2 separate regions of the Homo sapiens genome follow, and region 2 is linked to region 1. The links are contacts of gene promoters, found by promoter capture Hi-C in blood cells and fetal thymus (Javierre and others, 2016). All regions are on one chromosome and are shown on one strand. Each heading gives the region's core, a stretch centred on a gene start or on the middle of the fragment in contact. The rest is flanking DNA. Distances are from core to core; before and after follow the strand shown. Region 1 holds the start of CHIC2 (cysteine rich hydrophobic domain 2). Region 2 overlaps CPEB2-DT (CPEB2 divergent transcript).

Region 1 (7,397 bases), core at 1,443-3,942:
TGGCAGTTCTAATTTTTTAGTACTTTGTTTTACACCTGTTTCTCAAAGTGGAAAACTATATCTGAGGAGGAGAATAATAAAAACTAGTATCTATTGAACATAGTACCACACAGTGCAATAAATTCTTTTCATGTACTATCTCATTTAATCCTTAATAATCTTAAAAGGTATCGACTATAACTATCCCCATCTCAACTAAAGGTCATGAATAAACAATTTATCCAGGAAGTAGCTGAGATAGATTTTAACCCAGAGCCTAGAACCAAGATAAATGGGAGAAGAAGGAAGTTGCTGAGGAAAATCAGAGATTTAACTCACAATGTAGAAAGGCATACTGTTTATTGATGATAGATAGTCCCTCCCTATAACCTGGAATAGTTTTCAATCTTGGCTACACATTAGAATCACCTGTGAGATTTTATTTATTTATTTATTTATTTATTTATTATTTTAACTGTCCACTCCTAGGACCCTCACTTAGTATTTGGCCTTCAACTGGCCTGGGGTGGAGCAAAGACAATGGTCTTTTTTTAAAGACACCCAGGATTCTAATGGACAGCTAAGTTTGAAAACCACTAATAATTATTTTCTACCCTATTAACCTCTCCACGTAGCCAACTACAATCAAGTTTACTGATTACCTAGGTTCTGAGCACTTTGCCCACTATTGCATTTTCCACTTGCCCAACAAAGTGCTTAGCTTTTCTTCTCCTTAACAGAGGAAACATTACAACTACAGCGTCGCCTTTTTAAATGACAAAATTCTCTAGCTTTTCTTTGACATGAGGAATGTAGAAGGAGGGATAGATGGCATGACAAAGTTTGGAAATCACTTCTTTAAGCATCCACATACTCCTTAGGCTTAAAACAGTGCAAAAAGGTCCTAAAAGTCAAAATAAAATCAAATGGCAGGTTATGAATTCTGTGATATATGTTAAAAGTTTAATATCCATGATATTTGGTTATACTTCTTAAGCTGGTGACAACACTTAGAAAGTATTATTGTGGTGAATTAAATTCCACTGTCTTGTCATGGTGCTGTGATGGCAATTATGCAGTGTTTTTACCCTGTTAAGTCACCTGAACATAAACTAACAGGTACTAAAGAAATTAAAGCATTACATAAGCATACTCAAACAACAATATGGCTGGTCATACGAGAAATGCAATTATTTTGCTGACAAACTTATATGAGAAGTCTTACTGTTTCCCTAAGTTATTCACAGCACATCCCACTCACTCTTCACCAAAATATAATGAAGACTATTCCAGACATTCTCAGACTTGCTGGCTCTTTTGTTTCACTGAAAAGGTGAAGAAGTACAGAGATACCTGACAAGTATGGAAGTCTGATCTATTATTTGAACAAGAGATCTAAAATGAGAGAGTATCAATGTAATACATCAAGTGGTACAAAACTGTGGACTTCATAGTGAAACATTACAAAACTTCCTGCTTCCGGACAGCTCATTATTTGGTTCAAGGCTTCACATTCCTTTGTCATGGTCTTTCCGAAAGCTTTCATTCCTTATTAATATCAGACTTTTAATGTTACTAGTGGGACTTTCCAAATTAACAAGCCCCAAGTTCGTGCCCCAAGGAGGAGCTTCAGGACTACAATTTTCCCTCAGTAACCTGAGCAGAGTGTATGTCCCTCACGTAGTTGTTGTTGTTGTTGTTGTAAACATATTTCTTTCTGTATATCTTAAATTTGTGTTCAACTATATATTTTTATCACGTACAATTACAAGAACTTGCATTAGTTCTGCGGAAATTAGTGGAAAAACTGGGAGACCTGTGGGTATGTGTGAAATAGACACGAAACGGAGCTTCGCTGCCAATTGTCACTGGGGTCTCACACGGCCCAGATCTGGCCTCTGAGCCATGTCACTGGGTGCAAAGGCACAGACAACCACAGGGTAACTGGGCGAGAAAACAAGGAGGCTCCCTGTCAATACACGTACTTCCACCCTGAAGAGGAAGGGTGGCCCGCAGGGCAGACCCTAATGAAAACCCGTGCCTACTGGGATCGTCACATCGCCCGGGCCTGTAGGGCCTGCTAAAGGGGTGTGTGGAGGAGGAAGGACAGCGTCCGTCCCCACTTCGGAGACCCAAACAAATGAAAATAAGCCAAGTTCTCACTTCCTGGTTGCCTACTCTTTCGGAAGGCCCCCGACACCAGACGGACACAGGGGAAACGGGGCTCCCGTGGAGTAACGGGGCCCACCCCAGCCCGCACCTCCCGCCCTCGCCCTCCTCCGGGCCTTACACGGTGACGTGACCGGAGCCGCGGACGACCACCGGGTCCGGCGAGTACTTGAGCAGCTGCTCCTCCAGGGCCCGCTCCTCGTCCTCCTCTTCCTCATAGATTTCGTCGAAATCCGCCATCCTGAGCCTCCGAGCTCCCCTGCCCAAAGGGCCTGACTCCCGGGGTTGGCGCCGGGGTACCGGCGGGCGAGGCGGCGGAGGCTGAGGGGAGTCGCCGCTGCCGCCGGCTCCGAGGCCGCGGAGTTCGCTGTCGGCTGTCTCGGCTCCGGCTACAGAGGGGATGGGGTCTGGACCGTCGCCGCCACCGCCGCCGCCATTACCATCAGCAATAACAACAACACAATGTCAACATCCGCCCAGAGGCCGACACCTCCACAAGCACAGACGCCGCTGCCGCCGCCGCAGCAGCAGCAACTCAGGAAACCACAGCAACAGCCCGAGCCACCCGCAGCGGGAGCAGCCGGCTACGGCATCGCGAGACTTCCCGGGCCAACGGGCGGGCGGGCGCGTGCGTGGGCGCGTGGGCGAGCGGACTGGCTGGCGGGCGGGCGGGCGCGCGCACGTGCGGCCTCGCGCGCTCCCAGGCCACCGTCTTTCCTCTGCTTCTACCCGCAGACGGCGACCGGGGCGCGCGCTCCCGCCGGCGGGCCCCCCTCCGCCGACTTCTGGGTGGCGGACCCTGGGGGCGGCGGCTCCGCTGACTGGAGGCCGCGACCCGCGACTCCGACAACGCAGCTTGGAATGTCCAGTGGGACATGCAGTTCCCCAAAGTCATCTCTAACCAAAACAAACAACTGAAAAGAAAAGCCCTGGCTGGAATAGACACATTTTTGTGCGTGTCATTGCCAGTTTATCTAATAATCGCATCTCGCTTTTCCTCAGGTTTTGAGTCTATGATGAGAACCAGAGTCTCTTTTTTCCCAATTTGAGGAGTCCAGCAGAGACACTGCAAACATTTGTGCTCACCACAGGATTTTTCAAGACATCTCCAAATTCAAACATCTTATCCCTTGATCCCCTTAAGTATAATCCAATATATGAGGCCAGCGATGCTGGTATTTTTTTTTTTTTCTTACAAGAAATCTCACCGTAGTCATGCTATGAAAAAAAACTGATAAATTACCTGGATTCCATATTAGAAGATGCAGTTTCTTGCCCCAACTCTCTCACCAAACATAACCTGGTTTTTGTTGTTGTTTCCTTAAAATCTTAGGGAATTCCTTTCCTTTTCTTACCAGTTCCTACCACAAAAAAGACCTGAAAGAAAGGGCAGAGGAGAGGAAGAAAAGGAGGCAGGAAGGAAGAAAGGATAGAAGGAAGGACGAGAAGAATGAAAGAAGAATGGGAGAGAAAGAAAGAAGGGGAGGAAGGAAGGAAAAGGTTTAATGGAGTCTACTTAGCTGCCTAGTAACAGTTGAACGGTCACTTTGGGTACTTGGTTTCATTAAGCATATAAACAGCACAGGGGAAGGAGTGGGCTTCTGAGAAGAGAGTCCTGGACAGTGAGGATACACCATGGGAGAAGAAAGGATAGTTCTACTGAGCCCAGCGCTGGTCAGGCTCTTCAAGTGCAGTGTTCATGTCACAGTAGTCGGCTTTAGATGGGTCACTGTTGACGTGGAGAAAGTGCAAAGGAGGTCAATGAGGACAGTGAGAGATGCCAACCTCCTTTTGGAAACAACTGAAGGAAATGAGTGTGGTTAGCCAAGAAAAAATGAAGGAAAAATACAGTAGTTGTATCAGACTTATTGTATCCCTCCCTGGAGGGTATTTGTTCATTCAACAAATATCTACTGAACTCTAGCTATGTGGCAGGCACTGTGGACGTGTGTGAATGAGGCACAGGCCCTGACTTCTGGTAGCTTATCTATTGTTAAGGCAAGCAATTGTCATCTCTGCCAGGGGCTCATGGAGGAGGACACAGGAAGTGTCAGTGGGGCACACAGGAGGCAGCTTGGTCTGGTGTTTAACAATGTGTGTTCTGGAACCTGACTACCTGGCCTTGAATGTCAGCTCTGCCACTTACTGTGTGACCCTAGACAAGCCACTTAACTTCCCTGTTCAGTACCTGCCCCATTGGGATGCTCAGCAGATTCAAGGGCTTAAGATCGGTGAAGTGCCTAGAAGAAGGCCCAGTACACAATAAATACGGGGTAATAGGTGATGCTTAAGGCTCCCTAGCTTATCAACCCTGTGAGGGTTACCACAGCATTATGTAATATTTTACTGCTTATAAAGCACGTACATAATATATCATTTAATATTCCCCCAAGAACCTGTGAGGTAAGCAAAGAGGGTGTATTTATTTTCAGATATGCTATGTTTCAGAGATGCTATGATATGCTATATTTCAGAGATGCTATGTGGCTTTCTCAAGGCCATGTGACGATTTAAGATTTAATGGTCTAATTGAGTATACTGGTGGTCCAAGCTTTCCTGAATGTCTTTTTTTTTTTTTTTTTTAAGACAGAGTCTCACTCTCTCACCTAGGCTGGTGTGCAGTGGCACCATCATAGCTCACTGCAGCCTTGAACTCCTCAGCTCAAGCGATCCTCCCTCCTCAGCCTCTGAATTTCCTCCTTGGCAGGAACCAGGAGACTAGTGGCTGCACTCAGTTAAAGGAACAGCTGCAAATGGGAAGATAAGAAAGAGAATAAGAGGAAATAAGGTCAGTATGTCCTGGCACAGCCCACACCTGGCTGTGGCTGAGAATTCACCCTTATGTAGAAACAGTGGCCAAGATAAGGGGCTAGTGCCCCAAAGTATCTAAATCATCACATAGCTGACAACTTCCCAAAGACGGAGGAAGCCACACAGAGCTCCTTAGAACTCCAGCACCTTCCACAGTTCCTGCTTCAGAAAAGGAGCTTAATAAATGTTATCTGAATTGAGATACAGTGTTACTAGTGCTCTTTCCAGAACACTGTGACTTAATTAGGCTTCAGAGGACTGTGAGAACCTCACTCTTATCTTCACACTGGCTGGATGTGGGAGAAATGTTCTTATTCTAAGATCTATTCAACAGAGAGATCTTTGTAACTCCCACGGCCTGGGTATACGGTAGAGGCAGGGAATTGCCTTTTCTTTTTCTTTTTTCCTTTCTGTGTGTGTGTGTCTGTGTGTGTGTGTGTGTGTGTGTGTGTTTTCTTCTTTTTCCTGTTCTGAAAAACCTGTCAGAGCCAGCAAAAGGGTGTGGGACCTAGGAAGAAGGCCAAAGGGGTGAGCGAACATGAGTCAAACATTTTCCTGATGAGAGTTGACATCGTAATTCCAACCCTCCACCTCCGCCCTGCCAACCTTCCAAGATCCAGTTTCCTGTAAAACTCCTCCCCCAATTTCTTCCTGGAGATAAGCCACTTTTCCAGGATCCTCTCCCTCTGTGTCCAGGTACTCACTTGCACCCTGCTAAGTGCCCATCCCTCCATAGCCTCCTCTTCATTGGAGTTTCTCTTTATATTCTTGCCTCACATATTTTCATATTTACCTTTAGACCAAATGGCTCAAAACCAAACTGGATAATGTCAGGCCTCAGGAGTCAGCAAGACTTGTTTTTAAGGCAAATATTGCTTAGTTAATTCCTTAGACTTGAAAACTTCCCAGTTCCATTTCTACCTAGCAGAGTGGCCATTGGCAGCTTCACCTTTCTAAGCTTCCTTTTCTTCATCTTCAAATGGAAACTATGTCATGGGGTTCTGGAAGATCAAATGAGATCGTGCATGTACTATGGACTGAATTTTGTCCCCCCCCCCAAATTCATATGTTGAAGCCCTAACCCTCAATGTAATGGTATTTGGAAATGGAGCCTTTGGAGGTAATTAGGTTGAGATGAGGTCAAGAGGCTGGGGCCCTCATGATGGAATTTGTGCCCTTACAAGAAGAAATACTAGATAGTTTTCGATCTCTCTGTGCCATGGGGACACAGCAAGAAGACAGTCATCTGCAAGCCAGGAAGAGAACTCTCACCAGGAACCAAATCATCAGGAACTGTGAGCTAAATTTCTGTTGTTTAAGCCACCCAGGCTACGATGTACTGAATGTTTACATCCCCCCAAATTTGTATGTTGATATCCTAGCCCTCAAGGTGATGGTATTAGGAAATATTAGGGCCTTTGGGAGGTGATTAGGTTATGAAGGCTGAGCCCTCATGAATGGGATTAGTGCCCTCATAAAAGAGGCCCCAGAGAGCTGGTTTGCCCCTTCCACTATCTTAGAACACAGCAAGAAGACAACCATATACAAGGACGAAGCCCCTCACCAGAAACCAAAGCTACCAGCCGTTTGATCTTGAACTTCCAAGTTTCCAAAGCTATGAGAAATAAATGTTTGTTTATAAGTCACATAGTTTATGATATTTGATTATAGCAGCCCAAAGGGACTAAGACACAGTCTATGGTATTTTGTGTGGCAGCCTATTTGTGTGGAAAATACACTCAATGTGCTTTTTCCTATTCTCCTGCTTAACAACAACAACCAACACAGAAGACTCTCTGTGACCAGATGTGTTGGGGGGTTTTCTCCACCAACAAGCAAGCAATCAGTTCTGCAGTGGGCACCAGCTGTATGTCCTAATTCAATTCCAGCACTCTCTACCTGGAGATAGCATCAAATCCCACAGGTTGAGGGCTCAGTCCGCAAGACTGCACCCTCCACTTCAAACACCAGTCACAAGTCCAGGTCTCCAGAACTTCTGACTGACCAGCTATAAATTGGGGTTCCCACAACACCCTCGTCAAGTTCAACTAATTTGTTAGAGCGGCTCACAGAACTCGGGGAAACAGGTTTACCAGTTTATTAAGAAGGATATTTCATTTCATTTCATTTCACTTATTTATTGAGACAGAGGTACAATCACCATTCACTGCAGTCCAATAGTTATTTATTTATTATTTATTTATTGAGACAGAGGTACAATCACCATTCACTGCAGCCTCAACCTCCCTGGGCTCAAGCAATGCTCCCACTTCAGCTTCCCGAGTAGCTGGGAATGCAGGCATGCACCACCACATCCAGCTAATTTTTATATTTTTTGTAGAGATGGGGTTTCACCATGTTGCCCAGGCTAGTCTCCAACTCCTGGGCTCAAGTAATCTACCCACCTTGGTCTCCAAAAAGTACTGAGATTATAGGCA
Region 2 (7,397 bases), core at 2,795-5,294, about 39 Mb before region 1:
CATGCCTGGCTTATTTCACTTATATAATATCCTCCAGGTTCATCCATGTTGTTGCAGTTAGCCAGATTTCCTTCTTTTTAAAGGCTGAATAGTATTCCACTGTGTATATATGCTACATTTGCTTCATCCATTCATCTGTTGGTGAACACTTAGGTTGTTTCCGTGTCTTCGCTACTGCGACTAATGCTACAGTGAACACAAGAGTGCAGACGTCGCTTCGACATACTGGTTTCAAGTCCTCAGGATATATATACCCAAGCACCGTTTTTAAGCGTGTGTCCCTGTGACCCTGTTTTACTCAGGTACTTGCTGAGCAGTGGCCCACTCTTTGTCTTTGCTTCTAGCACTAGCCTGAGGGCCAACTAATGAAGCAAGAGACTGAGAAATGAGGAGATGGGGGCATTAATCTCAGTCTATGCAAACCATCTCAAGCAAACGACTTTACCTCTGGGCTTTGGTTTTCCAACAACAAAACAAAAATATTATTCGCTTTATCTACTCACAAAGTATATTGTGACAAGAAAAGGAAATAATAGAAGTCCCATTTCAAGCCAGGATTGAGATGAGCTTCAGTGTGTAATTTTTTCTGCCTTCTTGCTAGATTTGCCTTACCTCAATATTCTGTATAGATCACAAGGCTCCACCGATGACCAGCCCGGCAAGGTCATATTGCAGCAAGTAGGATTCCAATTTAGTAGGTCAGTTTCAGCCTACAGTCTCACTGTTTATGACTCTGCCCAGATAATTAGGGTTGGGAATTATCATAACTAATGTCAACAGTATTTATTTACAGCCTCTGTGAGGATGTACAGAATAATGGATATATTTTCTGTTCTTTTCACAGTTATACCCATAGTGCCTTGCACAGTGTCTGGTACAGAGCAGGCACTCAACAGAGAGTTTCTGAATACATAAATCAATCAATAAGAACTAGGAAAATTAAAGAACATATAAGGCATAGCAACTGCCTACAAAGACTTGTAATTCAATCGAGTTCACATGGCCTTAAAGATACAAGATAAGTAGCAATAGAGAAGTCAGTCAGTCTACGTAAGGGCCCAGTGAGCATCGTGGCAGAAATTACTGGAGAGGCTGACAGGTTCTCTCCTAGGTGGGGGTATTGGAGTGGGATGATAAATCCCCTGGATGCCACAAAGGGTAACACAGACCTTCTATTATGTTTCGGGGCTACACTTTGTCATCAGGGGAAGATTCTTGATATTTTTCTTTGTCAATGAGTTCATCTTTGTATGGCATAATAACCAGAATAGAGATCGTAATAACCAGAGTGAAACTTTTAGTTTGGTATTGTCAAGGAAAAAATATTGGGAAGGAAAATAACTTTTTTGTCATTGTTATTATGATTATTCATTTTATTTTTTCTCCAGTAAACATAAGGTAACAATGCTACAGTTATCCACAAAATGGCTCATGTCTTTGTAAAGCATGCTTTGGAAACATCTACCTCTTTCCTTCCTTCCATCTCCCTCCTTCCTTTCCTTACCTTGTTTTCTCCTTTTCTTCATCTTTTCTTCTTACAGCATTCATTGGGCAATTACTAATCAACAAATACTTATTGGGCACTTGTGTTCCAGGAATGTGAAAGGCAAGGGAATGCGGAGATACATGAAGGAATTACATTTGAGTAACGTTTCTGCAGTATAATTGACAGAGCATGGTTGACAATTGTTTTTGGAGGGTGAGAGAGATGAAGGAAGAGGATGACTCATGTTTCAGCTTGAGAAACTGGTTGTGTGATGATGACGTCAGCCAAGACAAGAAGCAAAATAGGAGAAGCAGATTTTGGGGAAGATGTTGAATGCAGGTATAGACACATTGAATTGATGTGGCTGAAGGACACCCAGGTCAAACTGTTAAACAGGCAGTTGGAAATATGATTTTGACCATGAGGCTAAAGAGATGGATTTGGAAGACATTAGCATTTAGATGATGTTTGAAAACATGATAATAAATTCATCTAGAAAAAGTAGGTAGAAATATAGAAAAGGACCAGAAACATAAGCCTAAGGAACTCTCACACGTAAAGAATATGTAAGGAGAAAGTGAAGGAGGAAATTATGAAGGAAGGTTTAGAAAAGTAGGAGAACTAGAAGTAATTGAGGATGGTACTACTCTTGAGTGCCACATCAATAAAGCACCTTGAAGTTGGTCAAGGTCAGAATGAATCTTAATTTCTACTTTCTCCTTTTCCAACTCCAAACCAGAGCTAATTAGCTCCCATCTAAAGACTCAAAGCTTTCCCATTCTGTGGGGTTAATTACATTTATGGGCATGGGCTCTGCCACAGAAAGAAACCAGCAGCATGGAAGTAAGGCATCCAGTTGACCTTAACTGCAGTGCCTCCTGAACTGGTTCCATTTCTATGAGATGGGGTCTTGACTCCTCTCTTTGTTCAAGCTCCTGTAATGAACCCCTGTGTTCCTGGAGTCCCAACTCTAGTCTCCTGAGACAGAAGTTTTCCCCCTTGTACTCCAGGGTTATCTATTCCCCAGCGTTATAGTCTTGGGATGACTTACCTGTCTTCATGTACTTATCCTATATCTGACAATGCCTGGAATTATTTTTGGCTAGTTTAAGAATCCTAGGAGCATCTGCATGGTGTTTGGACAGCTCCTGAAAACAAATTAACCATTTATAAACAGACCCTTGTATTACTATTGTATTCTTTTAGCTATCATTTCCTAAAATTGCTATTTATTAATTCAACAACCCCTTTAATAAGTGCATGCAATTCCCAACTCTTGAAAGCCTACTATGTGCAAGGCATCGTTGTAAGTGCTGAGGATACAACAGTGAGCAAAACAGGCATGGACCTTTCCTCATGGGCTTGTGATCTCAGAGAGAGGACAGATAAACAGTTCAAGTACATAGTGGGTCAGATGGAAACACAAACACCTTATGAGGAATAAGAAGGCTGGGAAAGAGTGGCGGCGGGGGGTTGTCATTTTATTACAATGGTGGTCAGGGAAGACATCACTGAAAAATGACTTTTAGCAGAGACGTGAGAGAGACATGAAAAAAAATGATAAAAACATGATTAAGTGAGCCCTGTTGCTACTTAGGAGACAAGTATTCCAGGTGTGGGAATTGCGAGGGCAAAGGCCCTAAGGCTGAATTGGCCTGGGCTGTTACAGAAATAAGCATTCCACTGTAGGGAAGCTTTCAGAGGGGTTAGTGGTGGCAGGAGCGATTCTGAAGAACCTTTTGGTTATTAAAATGTTTTGACTTCTATTCTGAGAAAATGTAAGTATTTAGTCAGAGGAGTTGACATGACCTGTCTTCCACTTCAGAAGTATCATCCTGGCTGCTATGTTGGGAACAGACTGGAGAGGGGCAAGATCAGAAGCTGGAATACGAGTTAGTAGGTGAGAGCAACGATGTAGCCTGGTCCAGGCTGCTTGTGGTGAGAATGGGGTGAAGTGCTTGGATTCTGGATATATAGGCACTCCTCGCTTTATTGTGCTCTGCTATATTGTGCTTCTCAGATAATGGGTTTTTCACAAATTGAAGGTTGGTGGCAACCCTGCATCAAGCAAGTCTATCAGCACAATTTTCCCAACAGCATGGCTCAATTTGTATCTCTGTGTTACATTTTGGTAATTCTTGCGTTACTTAAAGCTTTGTCATTATTATTATATCTATTTTGGGGATCTGTGATCATAATATTTAATGTTACTAGTGTAACTGTTTTGGGACATCACAAACCACAACCATATAAGACAATAATTTAATCAATAAAGGCTTTGGGCTTCCCTATTCCCTGAGACAAAACAATATTGAAATTAGGCCAATTAATAACACTCTAACGACCTCTAAGTATTCAAGTGAAAGGAAGAGGTACATGTCTCTCACTTTAAATGAAAAGCTAGAAATAATTAGGCTTAGTGAGGAAGGTATGTGGAAAGCTGAAATAGGTTGAAAGCTAGGCCTCTTGCACCAAGTAGTTAGTCAAGTTCTGAATGCAAAGGAAAAGTTCTTGAAGGAAATTAAAAGTACTATTCCAGTGAACACGAGTGATAAGAAAGTGAAACAGCTTTATTGCTGATATAGAAAAAGTGTGAATGGTCTGGATAGAGAAAATTAAACCAGCCACAACATTCCCTTAAGCTGAAGCCTACTCCAGAGCAAGGCCCTAACTCTCTTCAATTCTGTGAAGGCTGAGAGAGGTGAGGAAGCTGCAGAAGAAAAAAGTTCAAAGCTCGCAGAGGTCGGTTCGTGTTTAAGGAAAGAAGCTGTCTTCGTAACATAAAAGTGCAAGGTAAAGCAGAAAGTGCTTATGGAGAAGCTGCAGCAAGTTATCTAGAAATCTAGCTAAGATAACTGATGAAGGTGGCTACACTAAATAAGTTTTCACGTAGAAAAAACAGCCTTCTATTGGAAGAAGGTATCATCTAGGACTTTCATAGCTGGAAAAGTCAATGCCTAGCTTCAAGCTTCAAAAGACAGACTCTTTTCTTAAGGGCTAATGTAGCTGGTGACCTTAACTTGAAGCCAATGCTCATTAATCATTCTGAAAATCCTAGGGCCCTTAAGAATCATGCTAAGTCTACTCTGCCTGTGCTTGGTAAATGGAACCACAAAACTTGGAAAGAGCATAGTTTACTGAACATTTTAAGTCCACTGTTGAGATCTACTGCTTAGAAAAGAAGATTGCTTTCAAAATATTACTGCTCATTGACTATATACCTGGTCACCCAAGAGTTCTGATGGAGATGTACAAGAAGATAATTGTTGTTCTCATACCTGCTAACCCAACTTCAATTCTGCAGCCCATGGATTCAGGAGTAATTATGAGTTTCAAGTATTATTATTATTATTTTTGAGACAAAATCTGGCTCTGGCTATAAGACTGGAGTTCAGTGGCACTATCTCGGCTCCCTGCAACTTCCGCCTCCCAGGTTCAAGCGATTCTCCTGCCTCAGCCTCCCAATTAGCTGAGATTACAGGCATGCGCCACCACACCCAGCTAATTTTTGTATTTTTAGAAGTGAATGGTTTTCACCATGTTGGCAAGGCTGGTCTTGAACTCCTGACCTCAAGTGACCTGCCCGCCTTGGCCTCCCAAAGTGCTGAGATTGTTTTGAAATAAAGCTGCTATTAAGCAATTCTTCTAATAATGCAACTAACTCCTCTTTATAATTCTATTTTCATTTTAAAATTTAAAATCACTAAGTTGTCACCAGGACAGCCTCAAGTATTATTTTAGAAATAAATTTCATAAGGCTATAGCTGCCATAGTGATTTCTCTGATGGATAAGGGCAAAGCAAATTGAAAACCTTCTGGAAGGGATTCACCATTCTAGCTGCCATTCAGAATATGTGTGACTCATGGGAGGTCAAAGTGTCAACATTAACTGGAGTTTGGAAGAAGCTGATTCCAACCCTCTTGGATGACTTCGAGGGGTTCAAGACTTCAGTGAAGGAAGTTACTGCAGATGTAGTAAAAATAGCAAGAGAACTAGAATTAGAAGTGGAGCCTGAGGATGTGACTGAATTGCTGCAATATTACAATAAAACTTGAATGGAGAAGGAGTTGCTGCTCATGGATAAGCAAAGAAAGTGGTTTCTTGAGACGGAATCTACTCCTCATGAAGATGCTATGAACACTGCTGAAATGACAAAAAAGATTTAGAATATTACATAAATTTAGATGATAAAGCATTAGCAGGTTTTGAGAGGACTGACTAATTTTGAAAGAAGTTCTGTGGACAAAATGCTATCAAACAGCATTGCATGGTACAGAGAAATCTTTCATGAAAGGGAGATTCAATTTATGTGACAAACTCTATCTTTGTCTTAAGAAATTGCCACAACCACCTCCGCCTTCAGCCACCACCATGCTGATCAGTCAGCAGCCATGAATGTCGAGACAAGACTCTCCACTGACAAAAAGATTATGACTTACTGAAGGCTCAGATGATCATTAGCACTTTTTAGCAGTATTTTTAAATTAATGTGTGTATATTTTTCAGAATAATGCTACTGTGCACTTATTTAAATGTAATTACAAGTTATGTTTAGACTATAATTGAGAACTTATGTTTAGAGTATAATATACTGTAAACATAACTTTTACATGCACTGGGAAACCAAAAAATTGGTGTGACTTGCTTTATTGGGATATTTGCTTTATTGTGGTAATCTGGAACAAAACCCACGGTATCTCTAGGTTATGCCAGTAATTTAAAGGTAGGACAAGCAACATGTTCTGATGGCTTGGATATGATGCAAGAAGGACAGAAGTGGATTGAAGTGAAGAATGACTCCAGGGTTTTTGGCCTGAGCAACCAGAACAATGGAGCGCCACAGGGATTGGGCCTAGTGAGGCAGGGAGTTTAATTTTTGACGTGTTTAATTTGAGGTATCTATGAGACACTCAGTCAAATGGGCAAGTCGTTCAGGCAATGTAAAAGCAGAAAAAGAAGGCAGTAGCTAAAGGAGGGAGAATATAAGGTCAAAAGGTTTTGGCTTTACTTTTCAAAGGTGAGAACTAGTAAAGCAAGTTTTTGTGCACATGGAAGTGTTTCCTGGAGAGGAAAGAGGTCATGATGAAGGACAGAGAGAGAAAACTGTTGGAGCCCATGTCTTGAGTAGGTTAGAGGTAGGATCTGCTCCGCCAGTGGAGAGGCTGGCCTTAGACAGGAGTATGGGCAGATGGGCCATCCATTGTATCGAGAGGGAAGGCAAGGTGTGCAGGGACAGATGCAGGGAGACTGTGGAAGTTTTCCTGTGGTTGCTTCTTTTTTCTCAGTGAAATAAGCATGTAGCTCAGCAGCTGAGAGTGCTACATGCTAGCAGATGCATGTAGGAGAGATGTGACAAGAGGTTTTCAGATTGAGCAGAATGTTTGAAATGGTCTAGGACAGTGGTTTTTCAGTTCATAATCTGATAGAGGGTGTTAAAACCAACTTTGTAATTTGAGATCAAACGTGATTTTAAAATGAAAATAGAATTATAAAAAGGAGTTTGTTGCATTATTAAAAGAATTGCTTAATAGCAGCTTTATTTCAGTTGCATGAGTGTGTACTTGCACATATATTGGGTTGTAGCAAAAATACTTTTAAAAATACTTGCCCAGGACAGTGGGAGTAAATGAATAAGGGACTGTCAAATACAAAGTCAAGGTCCTAGTTAATGATCATGAGTCAAAATATTTTCATGTAAAAAACCAAAAAAATCATTGAATGGACTCATAAGATCTTGGCATGGAAACTGCTAGAGGACCATAGTCCCTCCTCAGTATTTGCTGCTCCTTCTCCCTACCCCACTCCACTCTCCACCCTAGGAAACCTTTTCATTTGAATATTTTCAATAAGGGCAAGATCACCAGCTTACAAGATGTCAGAAAGTAACTTTCTGCTCTAAAAAAATGGGGC

The links. The method cuts DNA at HindIII sites, captures the fragments that hold promoters and counts their contacts. A CHiCAGO score of 5 or more calls a contact.
Region 2: a contact is called between a fragment that was not itself captured here and the fragment with the promoter of CHIC2 in region 1, in 1 of 17 cell types (total CD4 T cells). The highest score is 9.2, in total CD4 T cells.

The regions. Positions count from the first base shown.
Region 1 is chr4:54,061,913-54,069,309 of GRCh38, forward strand. CHIC2 (cysteine rich hydrophobic domain 2) reads right to left here and starts at 2,693. Exons shown (of 6, transcript NM_012110.4): 1 at 2,270-2,693. The coding sequence starts at 2,388. RefSeq lists enhancers at 2,101-2,601, 4,598-5,797 and silencers at 2,401-2,530, 2,761-3,000. The HindIII fragment of the contact is 3,181 bases long and covers 1,517-4,697 here.
Region 2 is chr4:14,992,717-15,000,113 of GRCh38, forward strand. It overlaps CPEB2-DT (CPEB2 divergent transcript), which reads right to left. Exons shown (of 8, transcript NR_038857.1): 4 at 2,538-2,634; 5 at 1-186. Among named protein-coding and RNA genes, the nearest start is that of CPEB2-DT, 5.6 kb to the right of the region's middle. The HindIII fragment of the contact is 815 bases long and covers 3,638-4,452 here.